Linked DNA regions of Homo sapiens: all the other regions are linked to region 1. The links are contacts of gene promoters, found by promoter capture Hi-C in blood cells and fetal thymus (Javierre and others, 2016). All regions are on one chromosome and are shown on one strand. Each heading gives the region's core, a stretch centred on a gene start or on the middle of the fragment in contact. The rest is flanking DNA. Distances are from core to core; before and after follow the strand shown. Region 1 holds the start of CBLN2 (cerebellin 2 precursor). Region 2 has its middle 30 kb from the start of GTSCR1. Region 3 has its middle 250 kb from the start of GTSCR1. Region 4 has its middle 300 kb from the start of GTSCR1.

Region 1 (4,608 bases), core at 1,233-3,732:
TGCTCCGCGTGGCGGAGAAGGCCACCTTGGCGCTGCCGGAGCGCACGGAGATGCCTAGGGAGGAGGTGACGGCGCCGTCCGCCGACGGGCTGGAGTCGCACACCACCAGGCACTTGCCCTCCAGCACGATGGGCTCCGTGTCGTTCTGCGCCCGCACGGGGCAGCAGGCGGGCAGTAGCAGCAACAGCAGGGCCAGCGCCACCCCCAGGCAGGATCCGCAGCCGCCCGGCTCGCGCAGCGCCCCCCGGCGCCCGGGCATCATCAGCCGCAGCCCGAGTGGCCCCCGGCCGGGCGCCTGCATCGGGACTGGTGGGAGGCGGCGCGCGGGGGTGGAGGCCGGCGCCGGCGCGAGCGGCGCGGAAGGGCGCGAAGGAACGCGCGGAGCTCGCAGCAGCCTCCGGGGGCCTTCGTCCCCGGCTCTGACGTTCAAGGCCAGGGTCGTTCTCAGAAGAAAGGCGCCTGTGAACCTGTCAGGGCACAGAACCCAAAGCCTTACACCGGGAGGTGGAGCCACCGGGAAGAAGGGGGACTGGGAGCAGGTGCCTGCGGCTCGGGGGTTCTCCCCGAAGGCCACCCCCTTGGTCCCGCGCACAGCCAACCCGCTTTCCGATCTGGCACAACAGGTCCGGAGAAACGCCCGGGCGCAGCTGGCAGCGCATCCCTGAAGGCTCCCGAGCAGCGCGCGGGGCTGCGACGAGGGAGGGGGCCGCGCTTCTGCAGGTCCTCGTCGCTAAGACGGGCCCCGAGACCCTCAGAAGGCGTCACCGCCACCCCGCCCATTCACCAGCGCGGAGGGGGCTAAGACGCAGGCAAAGAAAAACCTACGAATGCTTGCCTTCTCGCCTTCATCTCACAGCATTTCCTTGGAGCAGCACCAAGGAACCCTTTTCCTATCCCTTGTTTCCCTGCTATCCTCTATTTTTCAATCCTCGAGATGTTTTTAAAGTCCATTTAAGTCCCTTTGGTACAGATTTTATCTGTTTTCCACCCACAGAACAAATCCCAGGAATCTCCTTGGGGCGAATAAGATTACTAGGGGGGAAATGACACCACACACACACACACACACACACACACACACACACACACACACACACACGGGCAGTAAAGCCAAACACCTACTTCCAAGGTCCCTGCAGCCACTAGCGAGCCCCCTTGGGTGAAACCCCTGGGATTCCTCTCTTAGGCGAAGGACCGATTCCAACGACGGAATCCCAGGCTTGGGTTATTCTCCAGCTCTGGTTTCCAGACCACGGGGATTCTCTCTTTCTCAGCGGGGCGGCAGCCCCTGCAGGTTTCTGCGAACTTACGCGCCCGTCTGCACTTTTGCCCCGTCCCCGCTCCTCCCAGGAAAGCAGACAGGCCATTTCAATACCAGCCCAGAGACACGCAGAGAAGCCGCCCCCTCGCCGCCCACAGCCTCCCATTAACTCTTCCAGTATTCTTTCTAAGAACAGAGAAGTTGGCTCTTGATAAATATCCGCTGTCCGCAGCCCCGATCCTACATGATTTCCCTTCTCTCTCTCCACCTCCTCCACCCCTCGATCTGGACCAGGGAGAGTCTTCGTTAAAATCCACGCAGAAGGCGCTTGCATGCGGAGGGGAGGGCAGGTCGGGGGTGGTTACCTGGAACATCCATGCTGGGCGAGCTCCGCTGTCCGCGAAGTTGCTCTGCTTAGAGAAAATGAGGCGAGTGGGAGCTGTCGGGAGGAGGACACGGAGCGCGACCCTGCTCCCAGCGCGTGGCCAATAACCGCGCCGCCCCGCCCTGCCGCTTTCCCGCGCCAGCCTGCGCCGCTTCAGGGGTGCACCACGCCCCGCGCGCCCGCTTAGGCGCCGCGCCCGGGACCGGGAACCCCGCGTCTCGCCCGGCTCAGCGCCCCGCGCTGTGCGCCCAGGTGCCTCCAACCCCTGGGCTTCGCGCCCGCACCGCTGCCTGGGGCCCCTCGAGCTCCCGCGCTCAGCGCGTCCGCAGCGCGGCTCCCTCGCGGGTCCCCTCGGCCCCGCAGCCCCGCCAGTCTCCAGAGGGCATAGCCGAGCGCTGCCGCCTCCCTAGGACTCGGAACCTTCCCTGCTCCCAAGCCCGCCGCACCCTCCAACGCCCCGGTCCTGCTCACCCAAACGCCCAGAGCAAAATACTCCCAGACGTCTCTTTTGAAAATTAGACACCCTTAAAAGCACCGGTCGCTTCTCTTCTTTTAGATTCTTTCTTTTCTTTCCCCAATTCCCTCCAAGTCTTAATATTGAATGGCGTGACCACTTTCATAATGACAGGAGCGAAAAAAACAATAAGTTAAAAAAAAAAAAAAGAAGAAGAAGACTGGGATGGCTGGGACGAAGAGAGGGAAAAAAAAAGCTTGAGAATTTGATGATTTAGGAGCTGTGGTTCCAGAGTCCCAGTTGGGGAACTGTCCGGTTCCCGCAGGGCTAGAAGAGGGGCCTCCGGCCCGGGTCTGTGTGTCTGCTCCTCTGGACCTCGGACTGGTGGAGCGGCTGGCGCTTGCGCTTATTTATTAAATTGCGGTGTCCGCGCTCGCTCAAAGGACCCGGGGAGACGCGCTGGGTTTCCCAGCTGCGCCTGGAGCTCGGCTGAGGGCGCAAACACGGACGTGGGGCGCCACCTGCGGGTGCCCGGGCCTCCCTGCCGCAGGCTGCGGACCGGCGGACTCCGACAGAAGACGGGGGAGTCCTGGCCGCAAGGCTGAGGTTTGCTGATGGTCTTCTTTCACCCCAAAAGCAGCGCTGACCTCTGCAATAATAATAATATAATAATAATAATAATGATAGCAACCACAAGAAGAACAATAATGACCAGTCTTCCCGGTATCCTTCAGTACTTTTACTCCTGGCAAAACCAAGCAGCACGCCGCCTGATTTTCCGGATCTTCACTGATCTAACAAACAACTCTGCCAAGATGATAAATGCTGCGGTGAGGTTATCATCGGTTATTATCGTCGGCACAACGTTTGCACAGACAACTGGGCCGTATAGTTTATGCTGGTCTAAAAAACAATCAATATTTAAATCTACACTCTATAGCCTGATTTTTTTTTAAAACATGGTTAAAAAATACTTTGTCCTTTGACATGCATTATACGTCTTTTCTGATAGGCTAATAATAATAATAATAATAATAATAATAAAGTTAGCCAGTGCTGTTCATTAGAGCATCTGTATTTCTTATTCCTCCAGACTTCACACCGAACCCTCTCCCCTTTGAAGATTTCAGCAGTGTCTGATTCCACCTTAACAAACGGAGGTCTTTTCAGGTAGGGGGTTTTGAAGGCCTTATTTTCCCATAGGCCCTCTCACCGCTATTCTCCCCATTTAGAACAGAACTGCCAAGGCATCATCTCTAAGCACTGGAGATGAAATTCACGATCAGTTCAACTGGAATGGATATGCAGAAAGTCATTGCACACTGCTGCGTGAGACAAAATATTTAGTATGGGTGTAAGGATGTGATTAAAAGTACCTCTGAGCCAAATGCTTCCTGGTTAACCTAGCATGCAAAATAGTAGAAAATATACAATACTTCCAAAATCTCTCATCCTCCTAAGCTATACTCACTGTAAAGTAAATGTCATACTTCAACACTTTTGTACCATGCTGGAGATAGGTACTGGCATTTGCCAGGATGCTTTTTCAAATCCACCACAGTTTGCCATGTTTTGTTACCATTTTTGTGAGTTTAACAGAGTGGAAATGCACTCTTACTTTCAAATAGTTATTTTATTCCACTATTTCATCCATGTGATAGTGTCTTACTGTCAAAATAAGCCCCCATCCATCATTCCACCATAGAGAGAACTGATTTAAGTGTAAGCATAGATAGCAAAGAACACTAGATATTTGAAAGACATGTGAGACACAGACATAATTAGACCAATCTGGGGATGCTAATTTATAGCAATACCTCTCACACATCTGTAAGTCCTTAAATAGCAACTCTACTCAGCATCTTTCCTCAATACTGTAAGCATTCCTTTTGACTAATATAAATGCAAGCACACATGAACTATCGTCATCAACACTGGGGGAAAAAAGAAAACCACTTTCTATGTGGCAACATAAATGTTTAGATTATATATATGTAGAGACACCTTTAATCTATGTGACTTATTGGACTAAGTTATTGAAAAAAGCTATAAGCATTCTTATATAATAAACAGGTTAGGTTTAATTTAGACTAGAGATTATTTTAGAAGAAACCATAAAAGATAGCAAATTGACAGAGAAGCAGATTATTTATTCATTGATTAATTAGTTGTTTCACATAAGAAGATATTAAAGTCGGCCGGGCGCGGTGGTTCACGCCTGTAATCCCAGCACTTTGGGAGGCCGAGGCGGGCGGATCACGAGGTCAGGAGATTGAGACCATCCTGGCTAACACGGTGAAACCTTGTCTCTACTAAAAATACAAAAAATTAGCCGGGCGTGGTGGCGGACGCCTGTAGTCCCAGCTACTCGGGAGGCTGAGGCAGGAGAATGGTGTGAACCTGGGAGGCGGAGCTTGCAGTGAGCCAAGATCGGGCCACTGCAGTCCTCCGGCCTGGGTGACAGAGCGAGACGCTCTCTCTCAAAAAAAAAAAAAAGATATTTAAGTC
Region 2 (4,608 bases), core at 873-3,372, 1.9 Mb before region 1:
TGGTAGTGAAAGATACATAGAGGATGTCCTATATCATAAAGACAGTGTGGCCTAAGTCCAGCGTGTTTCTCTGATCATATAATGCCCAATTGACATACAGTACAACTATGGTGTTGAGGAGAAAGATACTCCAAGAGTTCATTAAGCAGCCTAGCATAGGGCAGCAGGAAGTTCAGGGAAAGCAGAGATGGATTGGGGAAGGATGTGTATGCGTAATTTCCATGAAGACATTTTTTAAATGGATTTTTCTGCCAGAGTCCAGTCAGAAAAATGAACATCATGTTATGCACTTCAAACGCAGGAGACTTAAGATGGGGAAGTCCCAAAAGTGTTGGATAAACCAAAGATTAAAACAGGGCACTCAATGTAACCCAGAAATAAATATCAGTTCAGAGGGCAAAAGGGAAGAAAGTGGTTTTACCAGAATTCAGAAGCATGCTTGTTGTATTGCCTGTGCCACGTGAGACACTGAGACTGACTGGCTAGTGTGAGAACCTATAAGGTGGGGGTGTCCTGGGCCAATGCTGGATTCATGGTAAAGGGGCTGTGTGGCCGGTGATAACTGTGGAGAGACTGCTGCACACACTAGGATTGCAGAGAGATGCAAACACTTCAGCGACACTGTTGGAAGGAGGGAGGTGGGGAGAATGAGCATAAACAGAGGCTTCTTCCTTCTTCCCTTCAGTCTTTGGGTATTCTACTAGTTCCCAGAAATGACAAAATTCACAGCAAGCCAACAGGCAAGGGAGTCTCTGGGAAACGTAGTTTTCAGACTTCTAGTGCTAGTGTCGTAGAGCCAATTATATAAGAGGGCATATGGGTTTGAAAGCCAACAGGTACATATTGAAACAACCTACCTTTTTGGCACTAGGAATCCGTACACAGCCTTTTATTCATAAGCAAATTTCCATCTTACGCCAATAAAAAAATCGTCTTCCTAGCAAGATGCAAAGATAAAAAGATCTTTGTATTTATTTATTTATTTTTGAGATGGAGTCTCACTCTGTTGCCCAGGCTGGAGTGCAATGGCGTGCTCTCGGCTCACTGCAATTTCTGCCTCCCAGGTTCAAGTGATGCTCCTGCTTCAGCCTCCTGAGTAGTTTGGATTACAGGCATGCACCACCATGCCCAGCTAATTTTTTTTTTTTGTATGTTTAGTACAGATGAGGTTTCACCATGTTGGTCAGGCTGGTCTCGAACTCCTGACCTTGTGATCTGCCTGCCTCAGCCTCCCAAAGTGCTGGGATTACAGGTATGAGCCACTGCGCCTGGTCTATTCTTTATACAGATGATCTAACTTCTGTCTGGACCAAAGGAGTGGATTAAATGGAGATGTAAAATTAATGATCCGTACTGCCTCTTTCAAGTCTTTTATGGTATTTTTATGGTGCGACTAAATTCATAAGTTTCCCCAAGGGCATAATATTGCTTTGGTTTTACTATTTGGTAGCAATGTGGTGATATCTCAGGGCCATCCACTTGGTCCTTCTTAGCTTAGGTCATGCAACCAAGGTGAGGATTCCAGCTGCTGCTAAGTGTGTATAACCCATTATACCTTCAGCAACTGTACACATTCCAGCAGGGTGGGTCTGTGGACCTATTATGAGAAAGACTTGGGCTAAAACTCCATTATTATCTAAACTGTGTAAGTTTCCCCTCTGACAATAAACCACCATGACTTTCCCTAGAGATTAGTGTCAGTGCAGAGCAAGTGTTTAGTAAATTCTAAAATCTGGGCCATTCTGTCTACCCAGTGTATAGCTGCTCAAGAATATGACACAGGTCCTTTTGAGGAAGCTTAGACAAAGGATTGATAATGGACACCAGTGACAATGTAGCAGGATTCAAACTCAAAAGAAGTCAGCTTCCCCTCCAATAAAAGGACTCTGCCTCTGTGAGATGGTCTTGTTCTGATACTGGGTAAAAGACTGTGACCCTCTGTTGTCCTCACTCGAGTTAGTTTCTGCTCACCAGACTGGAGACTATCCAATTACACAGGCCAGGTAACAATCCAGTAGGCAGCTCATCTCTCTCTTTCCTGAGTCTATTGGGTACCACCAATGATCCCTGTGAGTTGTGAAAGAAATCAAATATGTTACCACCAAATGTACTTCTTTGACACCCTTTGAGATGGTTATTCATTGAGCCAGCAAACAGAAGTGGCTCTGCAAAGCTGTCTTTTGTGGGGAGAGTGGCATCTGCAGAGACTCTGCATTGATGCAGCCAGGTCTCCCCTTGTCCAGATCTAGGAAAGATTAACTGAGTCTGATACTCTTAAAGGTCAGAAAGAAATATTTACCATCCTTTGTCTCTGAGGGCTGCTACCTGTGAGGTTTCAGTTATGTAACAAGGCCACCTTGCTAGCCAGACTTCCTCTTCTCTTTCTCCCATAACTTGTTTTGCCATGATCAAAGCCCCCATTCACTCTGTAATTTCAAGATGGTATATAAGCTTCTACACCCTGTTAGGTGAAGGGGAGGTTTTCCCTTGGCCCCTACGGCTGAAACATTCACATTGCCCTTCTGGCTCTATGGCCTACTACGTGCCCACCTCTCAAATCTGTATTACAATGTACTATTTAGTTTTTAGCATAATCCTCAGCCCTAAATGCATTCTGACTATAAGATGTGAGGTTTTTATTTGTTTGTTTTAGAGCTACCTTAAACAAACAAACAAATGAAAACCCTTACATCTTCACTACTGTAGACATTCTTTGATTTTCTGACCATACCTTGAACTGAGAGTTTAACCTCTGAGTGTATCCTTTTCTTTCCCTGTATCTTGAGTGCATTTAGAAGTAACTGCCCCACACTGTAGCCCTTTGAATCATCAGTACTAAAAGTTACAGTTAAATGAAGTGGCCACTTGCTTTCCCAAAGCCTTGTCTTTAGCAGAATTTTGACCTCAAGCTACAAGAGGTGATTAAGTCATTATAATGCCACTTCAAGTCTCAGTTTACTAGATACCTATTTTCTGCTGCAAATAAGGAGGTCATTCTATGCAAGCTTGAACAGGTCAACAGATCAATACTGGAATTCAGTTTTGAGTGATTGTTTCCTGGGATCACTACCGGTACTGACTGCTATATAAGTCAGGGTCTTTTAAAGGAAATAAAAACCTAGATATTCTGCAAGGAGGTTGCTTAATCAAGAGAATAGCTTAAAAAATATTGGAGGAGATGAAAAAACAGAAAGTGGGCAGCAAGAGCTTGGTAACAGCAGGAAGCTGTTATTGCCCACAGATCTCAGGGAGGAAAAGGGAGGAGCTGTTGTTATCAGAGTCGAACACACACATGCTGCATGCTGCAGGGGGTCCTGAATGGGTGCTGAAACTTGTAGGAAGGGGCACCTGACCACAAGGACACCTTAGCCAGTGCTGGCACCGTGGAGGAGGGGCCTCAGAGGAGTGCCAGCAACACAGCAACTTCCAGAGACCCCGCCCGAGGCACAGGCAGGCAGAGAGAAGTAAAGAGGGAGGGAGGGAGAAAGGACAAAGATATTTCTCATTTGCTAGCCTTCTGTTTTCCTGCTGCTGCCTCCTATCCAACAGGAGGCCACATCACGAGGACACCGGAGAAATACTTATGGCTTTCTGGCTTCAGCCTTACTAAGCAGAGAACTGATATGTAGAAGTGAGCTAAGAGACCAGTAAAAACTGGTACAGACAGATTTATATTGACAAGTGAACAAACAAAAGGTATGAGCATATCTCTATTTGCTGTCATACCTGAAAATGTCCATTATTTGTGTTTTAACCCCAGAATAATTTCTTGGAGCATTTTTGATGGAATTATAATGACATAAAGAATACAGAGGAACAATAATTTAAAGATATACATATATCAAATATATGATATCTCTGTATACCCATATCAAATATATCTATATAATATATAGATATATATGACAGAAATATATATGTACAACTACAACAAGCTGTGAGAGATCATTTTCCAAATGGTCACATTTTAAATCATTTGAACGTGCATTGCCATGGCCACAATGACTGAAGGAACAGGAAATATTCCTAAGTAGTTTTTATTCTCTTTTGAGTGTTACATGTTAGCTGTCCGGAAAATGTAGAAGAGTTGTCTACACTCAGACCTTATATAGCATTAAGAACCCATTCAGTCCTCCCTGGTCTTCCTGTGCTGACTGGTTTTATTAGAAGCTGGATAATGATCAAGATCACAAGGAAGCCTGCAGGAGGAATAGCATGCCTTTATGCACACATAGGCATAATGACATCAGACACAGAAGGGACCTAGCAAGCCAGCGTGGACAGTTCTAAAGACCAAAGATATATATTTTTTCTTTTGTAAAAAAAATGAGAAGATCCTTCCAAGAAAGAGGTCCCCCTGACAAAAATAATTCATAGCTTTAGAAGTGAGAAAGTCATCTATCACTGGAGCAGTGTGGAGCCCTGATGCGTGAGGCAGTCATCCCAAATCATTCCAGGGAAATCATGTACTTTGGAGGTAACGTACATTGCACATCCATACAGACCTTTGCAGATTGCAGATCATTGCCACTCACATCATGTGTTTTATGGCTTACGACAATCTCGTGGTGTACACATCAGCACTCCCTTTTACAAGATGGGAGCTGT
Region 3 (4,608 bases), core at 929-3,428, 1.6 Mb before region 1:
GGGAGGCGGAGGTTGCTGGGAGCCGAGATCGCGCCACTGCCCTCCAGCCTGGGTGATACGGCGAGACACTATTACACACAATAAAATAAAATAAGATAGAAAAAATAAAACTGACCAGGCTTGGACTTAAAGAGGACAACCAGAAAAACGAAGCTTTACTAAGCTATTTATTCCTTATTATATGAAACCCTGCTAAAGGTAAATGCTGTGATTAAATACTCGCTCCCTTTCCCAATTTCTTAGCTTAACGTTAACATTGTAATTCATAAAGAGGACATTTAATATATTCTTTCATTGTAAATGCCTGTGGCATTTCACTAAGGATAACCAACTTTTCTAGCTGAAATTGTTAAATGCAGGTTGGGAATGGCCTGGTCATTGCTGCATTTTGCATGGCTGAAGTCTCATTTTGCATTTTTCTCTTTTGCTAGGATTATTTTATTTAGAACCTCCTTAAAAATCACCCCTTAGATTTCCCAAAAGAATATATGTTATAAGCAGCAAAACACTTTACCAACATGAATAATTCCTCTTTCTCTATAAATTGCGTATTAAATTTATGGATTATCTGTGACCCAAATATCTTCCCCTAGGCTATCCTACTAGTTCTTACTGAGTGCCAGCTGGGAGGAGAGAAAAAAGGTACAGGGTAATGAACGGAGTCTACTTGAGGAGAATAGCCAACAAAGAGATTGATTGGGTATATTGCCTCTTTCTGCAAAACCAATTTTAGGTCCTCTTTCCGTGGTTGTGTGTGTGCATATGCTGGTATGCATAAATTGAGAGAAGCAATATAATGTTTAAAATCAAAAGCTCCAGACACAGACTGCCCTCTTGAGTCCTAGTTCCATCACATCAAGGTCTTGATCTTGACATGTTGTTTAACCAGTCACTTCACTAGTTACCTCTTCTCTAAAGAACATGGTAGAAGGGCCTCCCTCATACCATTGCTTGGATAATTACATGTTTATAAATACATGATGTATAGCAAAATGACTGGTACATAGGAAAATGTTTCAATAAACACCAACAAATATGTAAGTGTCCTCTCCTCCTTTTAGCTCAGGTAATCAAAAAATAATAATAATTGACTGTGTCTTATTTCCAACTAGTTAAATAAGAAATAAAATAAGAATAAACATTTTCTTTACAGCCTTGTTACATTCATTCAATTCTTCATCTGGTGACAATTTTAGAACTGGTTGTAGGAAAAAAAAAAAAAAAAGCAGTCACCTATGAATCAATGCTATCCAAATAATCTAAGTGACTGGGTGTGCAATTCCAACTTTGTCTGATCACACCACTTACCAATAACTGAATCTGTAGAAGCAGTATCTGTCAGGTAGAAGGGATAAAAATAGTACAAGAAATTCTCATTTACTTTCACATTGGAGGAGTAGTTCTCACAAGACACTTGAAGAAAAAACATGACCAGTTTTGTATTGCCAGTGGAGGAAACTCTCTGTGGTATCCTTGGAAGAGGTTCACGTTTGGATGTGTGTGCCACCTGTCCTTGGTTTCAGAACTGTGAATGTCCAAACTTCAAATGATTTTCTCCTTTATTACCAGAACTTTAACTTCTGTGCTGTGAATGTCCCATACCAAGGCTGAGCCAGCTGCATTCTCATATGGAAAAGCATACTCAACAGAGAGATGACTTCTTTCAGCTTTTAATCAAACCACCTATGGGAATTTGGAGGAATTTTTATGTTTAAATTCTTACTCATACAAGTATAAATCTAAAACCCTCTTTAAATCTTTGCTTACAAAACTTGGAGGCTTTCACACTGTTTAACTTAATTCTACTTTATGTTGTAAATTTTACCATTTATTTTATATGAGAGTATGTTCTAGAGCTGTGCTGTCTTATACTCTAGATACTAGTCATGTGTGGCTACTTATATTTAAATATAAATCAATTAATTATAATAAAATACAATTCCAAATTCAGTTTCTTAGTCATGGTAACCATATTGCAAGTACTTAACCACATGTGGATAATGGCTACCATATTGGACATCACAGATAGAACATTTCCATCACTGTAGAAAGTTCTACTAGCCCATGATGAAATTCTAGAGCTTATGGACTTGAAATCAGGAACTGTATTTTATACTTCTTTTAAATATAATCCTACAACAAAGACACTTTTAAATATAATCCTATCACAAAAACAACATGTAATATTCATCAAGACATTTGTTGGTTGAATGATATCTTGCAGAATTTCTCCTTTTCACCGGATCTTGCTCAACTTCCACAAAACCAAACCTCAGTGTGGCCCATTACCTGAAGTTTTGGTCATTACTATCCTTCCAAAGAATTATCTCTATGCTCTTTTCCTAGATAAACTCTGGCTTTGTCCCATAGATCCCACAGATCTCCCTGTAATCCTTTTTTAGCCACCACCTCCTCCTCTTTCTTTTCTATGCATTCTTCAGGTTCCTCACTGAATACAGTGCTTGTTTTAGGGTTGAGAACAATTAGAATGAACTCTAGGTGTTTCATATGAGGTGCTTTTCCTGCAAGACCTGCACATGATATGATAACGAGGTTTGGGATGCTACAGACTTTTTGCTACCAGGTGGAATCTAATGTCAACCTGCAAAGGCTAGCAAAAGAGAACTTAAGAGAAATCCAACTTTTTTTTTTGAATTTATTATTTTTTTTTAGATGGAGTCTTGCTCTGTCGCCCAGGCTGGAGTGCAATGGCGTGATCTTGGCTCATTGGAACCTCCATCTCCTGGGTTCAAGCGATTCTCCTGCCTCAGCCTCCCGAGTAGCTGGGATTACAGGCATGCATCACCATGCCCAGCTAATTTTTGTATTTTTAGTAGAGACGGGGTTTTGCCATGTTGGCCAGGCTGGTCTTGAACTCCTGACCCCAAGTGATCATCCCACCTTGGCCTCCCAAAGTCCTGGGATTACAGGCATGAGTCACCACGAGAAATCCAACTTGTATATGACTTGAGCCCTTAAATCTCTGAAGCCAGCACTATCACAGTTTTTCAAATTCATGAGTCAATACATTCTGTAGATTTCATAGGTTGTTCTATTACTTAAAATAAAAATACCCTAAATTATACACTCTCTCTGTTCACTCATCTCTTGGAGACAATTTCAAAATCTCTCTCTTTACTCCAACTACTACTATAATTATAGGAGATTTTAGGAAATAGTGGCTGGAACTTTCTATTCTTTAAAAGTTGTCTAATAACCTCAGAAATGGTAAATATTAAAAGTTCATTGTATTAACACAACCACCCTAATATTCCAGGGCTCTGTACAATATTTGACATCAGAGTGATTTTTCCACCTAGTGACTATCAATATCTCCAAGCCGTATCTTTGTCTCTCCTTTGGTTTATCCATGAACATTCATGATTCTATTTTTTTAATGATACAAACTATATTTTTTCAATTGTCTTGGCAACCACTTTTCACTGAATAGTCTAGTTAAATCATAACTTTTGAGAAATGAAATAATTCCCTTTCTCTACTCTGATAGTTCAGGCCCTTTGTGGTTGAATTCTGTTCAGCTAAAACACATGACCCTACAGACAAGGGTCTTGCCTTAGATTGGTCCTCAGTTAAACCTTGAAAAGTTTTACCTCTTATTTGCGCGAGCAACTATCTCAAATTTTTGCCCTGCTCTTCAAAACCCAAACTCAATCCCTACTCCCTTCATCCTCAGCAGATTATCTTTTTACTACTTCAGTAAGAATATTGGGGCCTTCAGCAATAATCCTGCTTCTTTCCCACCCCCTACGTTTAATTTAATTTCCATAAGATCATCTTTACCTTCATTATGTCATGACCAGAGTGTGAGCTGTGTCTTCCTATTTAAACCCACCTCCAACTTTCTCCACAATAATACTCTATTATTCATCCCCTCTCTCATATATATTTAACTTCTTCCTTTCCACTCAGTATTCCCCCTCAGGCTGTACACATGGTTGGTCCTTTGCCTGAAAAAAAAAGTTCACAGTCAGGAATGAGGGATGAGATCGAAGAAGGAGATGGGGAGTCAGATCACTCAAGGCATTCTATATGATATTTGGGAGCTTATACTGTTTGGGGGGATGAAAACCACTGCAAGGATTCAAGCAGGGGTGGACATGGCCATATTTCACATTAGCATTCTAGATGATTACTCTAGCTTTTCTGTGGGTGATGGATTGTAAAGTTGTAACTAGTATACCAAAAGCTTATTTTGCAATAGACTAGGTGTTGCTGAATGTTACTAGGTTTTCCTAAAAACCATTGCTTATGGACAAGCAAATATTCATCTTTGGCTTAAATAAGCTTTTAAGTCTCAATCTTTCATCAACTCAGCCTCTTTAGTCAGAATATTCTTTATTTCCAAACAGTTGTAAGCAGGTGGCTCATTTAGCTTTCTATTTGTTCATCAGGTGATAAGTTCATGTTTATGTTCTGGTATAGTACCTGGGTGGTAAGAAGATGTTTCTGCACAAGTATCTGCTTCTCATTCCTGCCCCAGGAGTTCCAGTACACTGTCCAGTCTAGTGCTAAATCCTTATGGGGATGCTGTGAGACCCTAAGGATTCCTTGCTCATGTAGTCATTTAACTAAAGGTATGCTGTAGTT
Region 4 (4,608 bases), core at 1,121-3,620, 1.6 Mb before region 1:
ACAATTATACTATAAATAAGGAGAAAAAGACATGTTATGAATGAAACTACTAAAAAACTAATTATTTATATTAGGCATAGATAATACATTATCAGCATAGTTGAGACTCATAAAGCTGTGTTAGGCATACACACTTTGTATGTAAATAGTATGTAAGATATAAACAGAATTCATAAAATGTGTACATTGATGATTAAGTTCCTTACCTATGAGACATATTAGACAAGAAATAAAATAAGATTCTATATGTTGAATATAAATAGAAGGAAATGGAATGGCCCAGAGGAAGCTAATATTCAAAACACACAAATTCTTTAAACAGTAAGCAATTTCCTATGAGATGCAGTTGATGCACCTGAAGCACTCAGTATTCATGACATCTTAAAGTGACCGCCCTCTGCTAACAACCATTATGATTCCATCTTACCTACACCTGTCTTTTGTCCAAGAAACTTATATAAAATTCATAGCTCTTCTTCCAGGTAAACTTGAGAAGAGATTCAGATTAGTACTACTAATGAATGATGTTTTCATTGGGTAAGATAATTCCGTGTAATATTGAGAGCTTTACAATACTTCTTCCGCATATTATAATTTTGTTTGCTAGGCACTTTTCTTTCTTGACACCTTTAATTGTTGCATTCATAGAATATATATTTCTCTGTACTTTTTCATCTTTTTCTACCATTACATTCTAGGGAATGCCATCTTTCATATCTATGAATCTCAAATCTCCACCTCTAGTCCCAATCTTGCCCTTGAGGTCCAGAGTCATGCATTCAACTGCTTCTGCACTTGTTTGTCTGCATGCTCCTCAGGAGTCTCTATTCTAGATGCCCAAACTCAATGTGTCATTTGCTTGTTCCCCAGCCTCCTATATCCCCTCGTTATTCATCCTCCAAAGTTACTTCTCTCCTATATTACTTTCTTCTGTGGAAGGTGCTGAAGTTAAGAACCAATGAGGAACCATAGATTTCTCTTTTCCTTTTCTAGAATGCCAAACTAAATATTACATCCTGTAAATTTCACTCCATAACTGTTTCTCAAAATTTCCCTCATGGTATGTGCCTATTTGCCTTAAATTACTATTTCAATATCCTTAATCTGGAATGTTTTAAGAGTTTTCTTATTGATACCTTTCCCTTTCATAGTGTTTTCTTCCAAAAACTATAATGTACACTGTTGCCAGTGTGATTTTCCTAAAATAAAAGTTTGATATTATACTTTCTGCCCCACATTGAGCTTATAGCTCTCTGCCCTACTGAAAACTCCCTGAGGATTCACATTGCTAACAATATGAAAGCCAAGTTTCTTCGTATAAATAACAAGGCTCCCCATTACCTAGTCCCTACTTTTTGCTGCAAATTTTTGTCTTTTTTTCTCCTTGCCCTGCAACATCAAGCAACACGGAAAGACTTGAAGTTCCTTGAACACTGTATGTTTATTCATCTATTGATGCTGTTCTCTTTGCTAGAATCCCTTATCCCCCTTCCCTCCCATCTGCCTGGTAAATTTGATTGGCTTTAAGTCCTCTCCAAAGCTTTCATTGTATGTCCTGATAATTAATAATCTTCTATTCATGTTGCCTATACACTTTCATCATTGAACTTCTCACCTTGTATTGTATTCCTTTTCCTTGTAATTATAATGTTATAATTATCTGTTCACTTAGTTGATTGTGAGGTGCTGACAGTAAGGACTGTGTTTTCTTCATTGTAATATACTGAGTGCCAAGAATAACGTAGCATCTCAGCAAATATGTGTTAAACATTTGAGCTGATGATGGTCTCTGGAGAAAAAAAAGAGACATTAGCAAATTTAACTAACAGAAGAGCCATATTTTCCAGGTCTGAAAGGAATCATGCACCTTATTCTGTGCAAAATCTTTCCTGAGATGTTCTTAAAGATTATTTTAAGCTATTTTTATTAATTATGGTAAAAAGTAACATGAAGTTTACCATCTCGACCAGTCTAAATGTACAACTCAGTAGTGTTAGGAATATTCACATTGTTGTGAAATGTGTATGCAGGAAGTTTTCATCTTGCAAAACTCAAACTCAGTACCTATTAAACAACTCCTCTATTACCACAACAAGGATGAACATATGCCATGTGAAATAAGCTAGTCACAAAAAAAATAAATACTGGATGATTCCACTTATATGAGTTGGAAACAGGAAAATTCATAGAAATAGAAAGTAGAATGGTGATTAGCAGGCTCTGCGAGTAGGGATAATGGAGGAGTTGGCATATGTTGCCAGAATTCATCCTTGTTGTAGCAGGTGACAGGATTTCTGTCTTATTTAAAGCTGAATAATATTTCTTCATAGGTATACACCATTTATGTTTTGATAGATGTTTGTGTTGCTGATACCATTTGGCTGTTATGAATAGTGCTAGTATGAACATGGGTGTGCGAAAACATCTCTATTCAAAACCCGGCTTTCAATTATTTTAGATATAAGTCCAAAGATGAGATTGCTTGATCATTTGGTAATTTTATTTTTAACTTTTTGAGGAATCTCAATATGGTTTTCCATACCAATTTTGCCATTTTATCATCCCACCAAGAGCATACAAAAGTTCCAATTTCTTCATATCTTCCCCTGTTTTTTTTTTCATAGTAGCTATCCTGATGGATGTAAGGTGATGTTAGAGTTTTGATTTGCATTTCTATGATGATTAGTGACACTGGGCATCTTTTCATAGCCTTGTTGACCATTTGTGTATTGTCCTTGGAGAAACGTCTATTCAAGTCTGTTGCCTGCTTTCTAATTGGGTTGATTTTTGTGTGTGGATGAGTTGTAGGAATTTTTTATGTACTCAGTATATTAACACCTTATCAGATATATAATTTGCAAATATTTTCTTCATTCCATAGGTTGCCTTGTCACTTAAAGATAATTTTAACACTATTCATAGCAAATTTTATAAAGTTCATAAAAATGTATGCACTGTGTGCATTTGAGTAGTTGAGACTTCGGAAGGAAAGTGAGCTGTTAGACGTATTTGGGAGTTACTGCATCATACTGCATTTCATCAGATGATACAAGTTTTGCTTCTATCACTTTTATTGAAGGTTTTTAAAAAATTCCTGCTCACTGTACTGCTTAGATGAAGTAGATGGCAGTGCAACTTGTGTTTTGATATTTAAAAAATTTTATGGAAGTGAATAGGAAAGGAAGAAGGACACCCAAAATGGAAGCTTGAGATGTTGACATCCATGGCATTTGTGGGCTACACAGGAACTGAGGCTCTTCAGGCTGGGGAGAATGGGGAAAAATATTTTAATGCCCTATATAGAAATGATTTTTCAAATCCTATCAAGGTAGTTGGTGCTATTTCTAATGGAAAGTATCTTCACTCTGGCTTCTGCAATGTAATCTATTTCCTCAGCTGAACTAACTTCTCTATTTTCCTTTGTCCCTCACCCCTCCTTTTGTGGGTGGGACAGGGAGCCTTTTTCCTAAATCTTCTTGTGTCAGTCATGGTGTTCTGAGCCAGCTTCTCCCTGATTTGTCTTCCCCTTAAGAATTTTATTCTAGCTCTAATACACCAGTGTTTCCGTCCAGTATCCTATTTGACTCCTGGCTCAGGTTCTGGAACCAGGAACCTTTCTGTCTCACTCTTTTTAAGTGAATTCTCAAATTTAGAATCCCATTTCTTCCCAACTTCTCCCACATATTGCTCAGTGTTCATCTGTAGAGAAAGGGTGCCTGACAGAGCAAGCATGTCCCTTCTATCATCTTCCCACTTGCCTAAGGATTCCCACATGTGGCCATCAGAATTCAGCCAGAAAAACACAAGCTGATGTATGTAGTCCAGCAATAAAGGGCTTAATAAAGGAACAGGGGTATTATGGTTTGGCTCTGTGTTCCCACCCAAATCTCATCTAGAATTGTAATCCCCACGTGTTGGGGGAGGAGCCTGCTGGGAGGTGATTGAATCTTGGGGGCGGACATACCCCTTGCTGTTCTCATGATAGTGAGTGAGTTCTCATGGGATCTGATTATTGGAAAGTGTGTGGCACTTCCTCCTTTGTTTGCTCACCCTCCTGCTGCCATGTAAGATGGTGCCTTGCTTCTGCTTTTGCCTTCCTCCATGATTTTAAGTTTCCTGAGGCCTCCCCAGCCATGCAGAACTGTAAGTCAATTAAACCTCTTTTCTTTATAAATTACCCAGTCTCATGTAGTTATTTGTAGCAGTGTGAAAACAGACTAATGCAAGCAGTTTACACAAATGTAGCAAGAACTAGAAAAGCAAAGTTTTAGGAAGCTGCCAGTGAAGTTCAGGAAAGACCTCAGCCAGAAGCTCAGAAGCAGGTTGTTCTCAAGTAGTTTCTAAGAAATGATGGCAGTTCTAAAGAATCTCTGGGACTCTACCAGCAGCTCTCTCAGTCTGTAACAGTGCTTCACAGGAGCTCACTGTGACATTTCATGTCTGTCCACACATCTGCCTGCAACCCCCAAAGAGAATACTGGCTTCGCCATCTTTTCTGCATTCCAAATCTTATGCAAGAGTTTCTTATTGGCAAACTCTAAGTAAGTCCTATCTAGGCAAGTGAATTTTGGAAATGTATTTGCAATTCCTTAGGAAGACAGTTCATTG

The links. Contacts are between HindIII fragments. The CHiCAGO score rates a contact against its expected background, and 5 or more counts as called.
Region 2: a fragment that was not itself captured here is called in contact with the fragment with the promoter of CBLN2 in region 1 in 1 of 17 cell types (endothelial precursors); the score reaches 7.6 in endothelial precursors.
Region 3: a contact is called between a fragment that was not itself captured here and the fragment with the promoter of CBLN2 in region 1, in 1 of 17 cell types (M2 macrophages). The highest score is 6.2, in M2 macrophages.
Region 4: a contact is called between a fragment that was not itself captured here and the fragment with the promoter of CBLN2 in region 1, in 3 of 17 cell types (M2 macrophages, M1 macrophages and endothelial precursors). The highest score is 12.3, in M2 macrophages.

The regions. Positions count from the first base shown.
Region 1 is chr18:72,541,860-72,546,467 of GRCh38, forward strand. CBLN2 (cerebellin 2 precursor) reads right to left here and starts at 2,483. Exons shown (of 5, transcript NM_182511.4): 1 at 2,118-2,483; 2 at 1,627-1,671; 3 at 1-467. The coding sequence starts at 301. The HindIII fragment of the contact is 3,863 bases long and covers 2,355-4,608 here.
Region 2 is chr18:70,618,593-70,623,200 of GRCh38, forward strand. No RefSeq gene overlaps it. Among named protein-coding and RNA genes, the nearest start is that of GTSCR1, 30 kb to the right of the region's middle. The HindIII fragment of the contact is 654 bases long and covers 1,796-2,449 here.
Region 3 is chr18:70,894,245-70,898,852 of GRCh38, forward strand. No RefSeq gene overlaps it. Among named protein-coding and RNA genes, the nearest start is that of GTSCR1, 250 kb to the left of the region's middle. The HindIII fragment of the contact is 4,054 bases long and covers 152-4,205 here.
Region 4 is chr18:70,948,943-70,953,550 of GRCh38, forward strand. No RefSeq gene overlaps it. Among named protein-coding and RNA genes, the nearest start is that of GTSCR1, 300 kb to the left of the region's middle. The HindIII fragment of the contact is 1,665 bases long and covers 1,539-3,203 here.